Linked DNA regions of Homo sapiens: region 2 is linked to region 1. The links are contacts of gene promoters, found by promoter capture Hi-C in blood cells and fetal thymus (Javierre and others, 2016). All regions are on one chromosome and are shown on one strand. Each heading gives the region's core, a stretch centred on a gene start or on the middle of the fragment in contact. The rest is flanking DNA. Distances are from core to core; before and after follow the strand shown. Region 1 holds the start of SVOP (SV2 related protein). Region 2 holds the start of FOXN4 (forkhead box N4).

The links. Contacts are between HindIII fragments. The CHiCAGO score rates a contact against its expected background, and 5 or more counts as called.
Region 2: a contact is called between the fragment with the promoter of FOXN4 here and the fragment with the promoter of SVOP in region 1, in 9 of 17 cell types (total CD4 T cells, erythroblasts, activated CD4 T cells and 6 more). The highest score is 9.3, in total CD4 T cells.

What each region holds. Positions count from the first base shown.
Region 1 is chr12:109,019,688-109,022,598 of GRCh38, reverse strand. SVOP (SV2 related protein) reads left to right here and starts at 1,531. Exons shown (of 16, transcript NM_018711.5): 1 at 1,531-1,765. The coding sequence starts at 1,731. The HindIII fragment of the contact is 11,834 bases long and covers 1-2,911 here.
Region 2 is chr12:109,307,623-109,310,987 of GRCh38, reverse strand. FOXN4 (forkhead box N4) reads left to right here and starts at 1,704. Exons shown (of 10, transcript NM_213596.3): 1 at 1,704-1,869; 2 at 2,664-2,752. The coding sequence starts at 2,667. It also overlaps a transcript of MYO1H not described here. The HindIII fragment of the contact is 5,817 bases long and covers 1-3,365 here.

The sequences.
Region 1 (2,911 bases), core at 282-2,781:
CTTCTCTGAGCCTTGTTTCCTCATCTTACAAAATAAGGATAAAAATCACACCTGCTCATAGGATTGTTGCAAAGATCAAGGGGACCATGGTGAAGTACATATCCGGGTGCCTGGCACACATTCAATTTTGGATTTTCAAGTCCTTTTATGGATTCGATGTGAGATTGTTTTCAGTTCTCAGATTGGTTTTCTTGTTCCCTCTTCCAACTTCCCCCACCCTTTGTCAACAATTAAAGAAAAAAAGAAAAAAATGTTTCCTTCTTCCTTTAGTTCCTTGTAAGTGTCCATTCAACGGTCATTCTCATAGCTTTTGCCAGTTGCCATCATGGATCATCTTAGTAGTTTTCTGTTGTATAATTTTCCAGCTTTTCTTTTCATTTGTTCACACTTGATCAGGGGTTTCCACTTCATGGTGCTGGGGAGCTTTTAAAAAATACCCTGAGGCCGGGCGCAATGGCTCACATCTATAATCCCAGCATTTTGGGAGGCCGAGATGGGAGGATTGCTTGAGGCCAGGAGTTCTAGATCAGCCTGGGCAACAAAGCAAGACCCCATCTCTACAATAAATAAATTAGCTGGGTATGCTGGGATGAGCCTGTGATCCCAGCTACTAGGGAGGTTGAGGTGGGAGGATTGCTTTAGCCCAGGTGGTTGGGGCTGTAATGAGCCATGATCATGCCACTGCAACTCCAGCCTGGGCAACAGAGCAAGAACTTGTCTCAAAAATAAATAAATAAATATTGAAAAAATAAAAAATACCCAGGCTTGGCCTCCACCTCCCGAGAGTTGAGTTCAATTGGTTTGAAATGGAGCCAGGCAATTCTTATATGCAGCCTGAACTGAGAACCATTTATTCAACAAATATTTATGGGGTACCTTCTATGTGCCAGACACTGTTCTAGTACTTGGGACACATCAGTGAAACCTCATGGAGCTTAAGTTCTAAAGGGGTCAGAAATTCTAGTGAGAGGTGGCTTAGGGGAACCATTAAACTATCTAGGATCTTGAAGGCAGAGACTTTATTTTACTCATGTTTTTATTCCCCAGGGTCAGGGCTGTAGAATTCACCCAATAACGCTTGTTGAAAGAATGAGTGATCTTTGGCCTTCTCATACCTAATTTACATTTTTCTTTTCTTGATTCATTTCACTAGACCCTTAGCTCCACGATGACAATGACAGGTCGAATTTGTTCTGTCATACCCCCAGTGCCTATTACAGTGCCTGGCACATAGGTGCTCAGTAAACCGTACTTAAATGCATGCCTGTATTTGTTACAGCAGCCTGGGTTTCAAGAGTGTTATACGGATAACATTAATGAATCCACGCAAATAAACATTTAGACACGCATCGTCAATCAAAGGGTGCTCACTGGTACCCGGACAACCATTTCACAGACTGGTGTGCCCTATAGGCATCCCAGTGATACACCATCAGCCAGAGAGCCTGTGAACTCTTCCAAGCAGAAGGGCTCTCCCTGCCCCCTCTCCCCGCGCAGCTCGCTCTGCCCTCCGCCTCCTCTTCTCCGCCCACTCTCGCCGCGGTCTCCTGGCGGCGGAGGCTTTGTCTCGTGGGCTGGTCCCCAGCGGCTCCCTCCCCGAACAGCTGCTGCTCCAGGGAGGAAGCGGCGCGGGTGCTGTCCAGCTTCCCGGTGCTGAAAACCGGAGGGCTCGTCATCCACCACTACCATGTAAGGGCCATGAGAAGGGCTCATCCTGGCGCAGCGCGGACATGGAGGAGGACTTATTCCAGCTAAGGCAGCTGCCGTGAGTATCATGGGGGCGAGCAAGAGGCAGACAGGCTTTCTTTTAAAAAACGAAAACCTGCAAGGGGGGTGGGGGGGGGTACATCTCTGCATGGTTTCTTGAATTTAAAGGGAACTGTTTCAGAGGAAGGAATTAGGGCCTGGAGGAGACAAGCCATTTTCTTTCCCCAGCAGCCCAGCCTCTGTATCTCTGACTCAGTTCCATTTATCAGATCTGTCAGGACCTTATGGGGGAACCACGGGGGTTATGATTCCCCTTTTAATTGCTCTCAATCCTAAAAGGATTTTCAGATGTGAGCTTTAAGAAAGCATTAGCTGCTGTTTTGAAATGTGGACAGAATTGGTGAGTCTATGCAATGACATCGGTCCTTTCCAGCCCTAATCCTATGCTGTGAAATCCATAATTTTTCTGCAAGGTCTTTTGGAAGGGAATGATACTGATGCTGCAAACTGGTTGATAAAAAAAACTGGGATGCCTTCCTAGAGGAGAGGGTTGGGCAAAGTCCTGTTGTTTATGAAGTGTGTGAATGAGAGGGCTGTGCACGGTCGGTGAAACCTCTTGCCTTCTTCTGAATGAAAGGTTTTTGTAGCAGCTAGCTAGAGTGAGACTCACTGTCGGAACATCAGGAATATACTGCTTTGAGGATGGCGATTTTTAAGAAAAACCAAATTTGCTCTGAGAATCTGGGGGAAATATCAAGCAACCGAAAGGACAGGGGCCTTGTAGAGGGGCTTACAGATTTTTCCTACCACAAGCAGATAGTGATTTGTTAAGTAAATTCCAAGAGTATGAGAGGGGGCATTAAAAAGAACATTGGTGGGGCAGGGGTTGTTTTAATTTTTAGAAGCACTAGCCATTTGAGTGGTAAGAGTAGATTCCCTTTGGGATTGTTAGAAAGGATAAATTATAGTTAGTGTGTGTGTATTTTCTTGATTTTAAAAATGGTGGATTATTTTTTTCTATAATCTACTGAGGAATTCTCCCAAGTGACTTTTAGTGTGACTGATACAGTTCTCTGAGGCTGTGAGTACTGAAGGGGATTGTAATGTTTACTTTTCAATCAGAGTAAAATTAGTTTTCACCAAAATTTTTAATTAATTTAAAATTTGCTTTAAAGTTTTACTAATTGATCCACAAATAGTATAT
Region 2 (3,365 bases), core at 455-2,954, 290 kb before region 1:
TTAATTATATGTCATTCAGGGACATTCAAAGCAACATAAACTATGTAAACCACTTTCCTAACCGGTCAAAACACACATTTTAAATACATGCTGGTCGCGGGAGATGAAAACTGAGAAAGTTTCATGACTGTGACCTCAACTAACATCTGTAAACTACATCTTTTTCCTCCCTAGAGAATGAAAGCTGATCTATTTACTCCTGGCAGAGAAGAAAGGAGGAAGGACGTCCAGGTGCTACCAGAAAACCATTTGTGAGGACATGGACCAGTGCCAAGGTCACAGCCCACCTGAATAGAACTTGAAATCCAGGCACACCCAGTCCAGGGGAGCCCTGAGTTCTTCCTGAACTTAAACACTGGGTTTAAAAAAAAAAAAACAGTCACAGGTGCGGGGACACTGGTCCCCTGCCTGCTGCGAAGTAGATAACGCGAGGACAGCCTCAAAACAACTCCAGACGCTTCGGGTGCCTGAGCCTCACTCGGTGGGGGCGGCGCAGAGGTCCACGTGCAGTACGCGAGCTGGGGAGGTGCGGGAGCCCGCGCTCTGCCCGTGCGCCGCCGACCCACTCACTGCCGCTCGGGGCTTTGGGTTCCCCCCATGCAAAAGGAGGACCATGCTATGTCATCAAGGGCTGATGCGAAGAAGAACCCAGAAGCAGGCGTCAATAAGTAACGAAAGAATGGGGGTAGCCGTGCCTAATATCGTTGCTGCCGTGGCAATTACTGCAACGGAGGCTTGAGAGTTAGGGCGCCAGAAACGCAAACTTTCCAGGGGACCAAACTCATCCAAGCCTCCTAAGGGGCCTGTGGAGACCTCTGCCCGCTCTGGGCCCCGCCGCCGTCCGCGGTCCGCGCCACCTTTCCCGCGGCTGGCTCCAGGCGGGGCGGGGCAGCGGCGGCGCGGGCCGGGCGGCGGGGAAGGGAGGGAGCGCGGTTGCACACGCGGGCCACTGCCCCCAACGGCTGCGCTGGGCTCGCGGCGCCGTACCCCGAACGCCGCAGCCTCCGCCTCCGCCGCCGCCGCCACCGCCACCGCCACCGCCGTCGCCGTCGTCGCGGCTGCCGGGGCCGCCGAGCCCCGCCGCACTCGCTCCGGGCGGGCTCACCCTCCTCGCGGGACAGGGGGGCGCAGCGCGCAGTCCCGGGGAGCCCTCCTCGCCTCGCCGCCGCGCTGGGCCCGGGCCCCCCCTCGCGGCCCCAGCAGGTGGAGGCGCCCCGCGCCCCGCTCCGCAGCCCCCTCCCGCTGCGCGCCAGCCCGCGCGGGCGCAACTTTCTTAAAGGGACAGGTGGACCGAATCCGCGTCCACCTGGGGCCCCGTCTCTGCCTCCCGGCCCGTCCTCCACTTTGGGGGAGAGAGGGGGTTGCAACAGATCTCTCCGCCCGCCCACGTCCTTTGCCCCAGGCGGGATTGCAAGTTTTAATGCACCCAGCCTCCTTTTGCAACTTAATTCCCTTGGCCGAAATCACCCTCCCACTGCTCCTCAACGCATGCTCTCGGGCATGCAGTTGTTGTCACTGTTGGCAAAGTTTGAAGAGGGGTCCCTACCCCTGCACTCCTCCGCCCCGCCCCCCTCACACACACCCCCCCCCCAGAACCCCGGGGCGTGCAAGGCTCGCGGCTGCTGGGAAACGCCCGCTGCAATCCCCTTGACCCTGCCCTGTAACTGACCCTTGGGGAAAAGCCCCCCGCACGGCTACTGCGCATGCTCTGAGCTGGACAGCTCCAGAGAGGGAAATTTAAAAACGGTTCGAGCTGCGACGGCGGCCAAATTGCGGAACGCGAGGGGCGAGCGCGAGGGAGCCCCCCTCCGGAACCCCTGCCCACCCCCGGAGCGCCGGCAGCGGCGGCCCCGCGAGGATCGGCTCCAGGTACCGCCTTGCAGGGTCGGCTTTGCTCCCTCCTCCCGGGCAATGCCGGGCATTGCATTTCCAGGGTAGAGACCCGGGCGCAGGGGCTGCGGGGCCGCCTCCCTCTGCTCCCTTTTCCTCCTTCCTGGGAATCCTTCGATGGCTTTGGGGGCGGAACTGAGGCTTTGGTGGGCTTTTATGTTGGTTCAGGCTTGGAGTTTGAGAAACTTAGGGAACTCAAATATTTTTATTATTTTTTTAAGGCAGTGTTTGTGTGTTGCGGGGACGTGGGTGGTTGGATTGGTTTTCCAGTAAGGGCTTGTGGCATTTCTGAAGGCATTTCAGGGCAGGAGCTTGCGGGGATTATTCCCTTTGCAAGTGGGAATTTGTTCCCCCAGAGAAATACACATGTCACATCCAGCTGCCCCTTATTTTGAAAGTGATCATAACCAAACTGAGGTTGAAAATATAAGGCTTGGAAGGAAATCGTTTTTCTGATTCCTATTTTGTGAGTCCACATTTTCCAGGTTTGACATTTGGATTCTAGAGCTTCCCTTGCTCTTCCCCCATTAATTCGAAAGAACCGGGAATTTCATTTCATTCTCTTCATTTGTTTCTAAAACGCTGTAGAATTGCCCTGGGAAAGTGACCTGAGATGCCCAGGAATCCTCTAGAACTTTTTTCTTTAAAGAAAAAAAAAGTGTTCTGTGAGTTGATTGTGCTCCATCTTTCTGAATTGCGGGAAAACTGTGGGTTTCTGCCCTGTCCATATCGTCGCTGATGGGAGCTTTGTTTTCTGCTTGTCTTTTCCCAAGGAGATGATAGAAAGTGACACCTCATCCATAATGTCAGGAATTATTCGAAACTCAGGGCAAAATCACCACCCCTCTCCACAGGAATACAGGTGAGGGCTCCAACAATAACAAACTATATATTTTTTAATTGCTCAAAGTGTTTGTATGCTGTTTATGGTTTCTGAAACTGCCCAAGAACTATTGTTATGTTCAATTCTGTGATTTTTGCGGGAGAGCTGGAAAGTCTTGATTTCAATGTTGGTCTTGCTAAGGGTGTCTGGGCCACAACCTGGCCCAGTGGGACCACGAAATGCCTGCTGTCTCTTGTCCCCTCCAAAAGAGGTCCGTTTCTGCATTTGATACTGTTTGGGCATCCTGGTGAATGTTAAGATGACAATAGCAGCTACTGCTTCCCCTCCAGTGGCCTTAATGGGGGCTGTGGGAAATGCTCCCCCACCCCCTGCCAAAAAAAAACCTTCTGGGAGGAATTGGGTTCTATCCTCCACAGATGTTAAGAAAGTAGTCAGATATGCTAAGTTCTCAGCCAGGCTGTGTGACATTCAGCAAGTCCTTTGCCCTGGGCCTCACTTCCTCATCATTTAATTGATCTTGTTGAAGTAGATGATCTTAAGGTTTCTTCTAGGCCTCATGTGTTTGAAGAGTAAATTAGATGGAAACTGAGGCCTTGAAACAGGGTGAAGCAAGGTACAACTGAGAGGATGC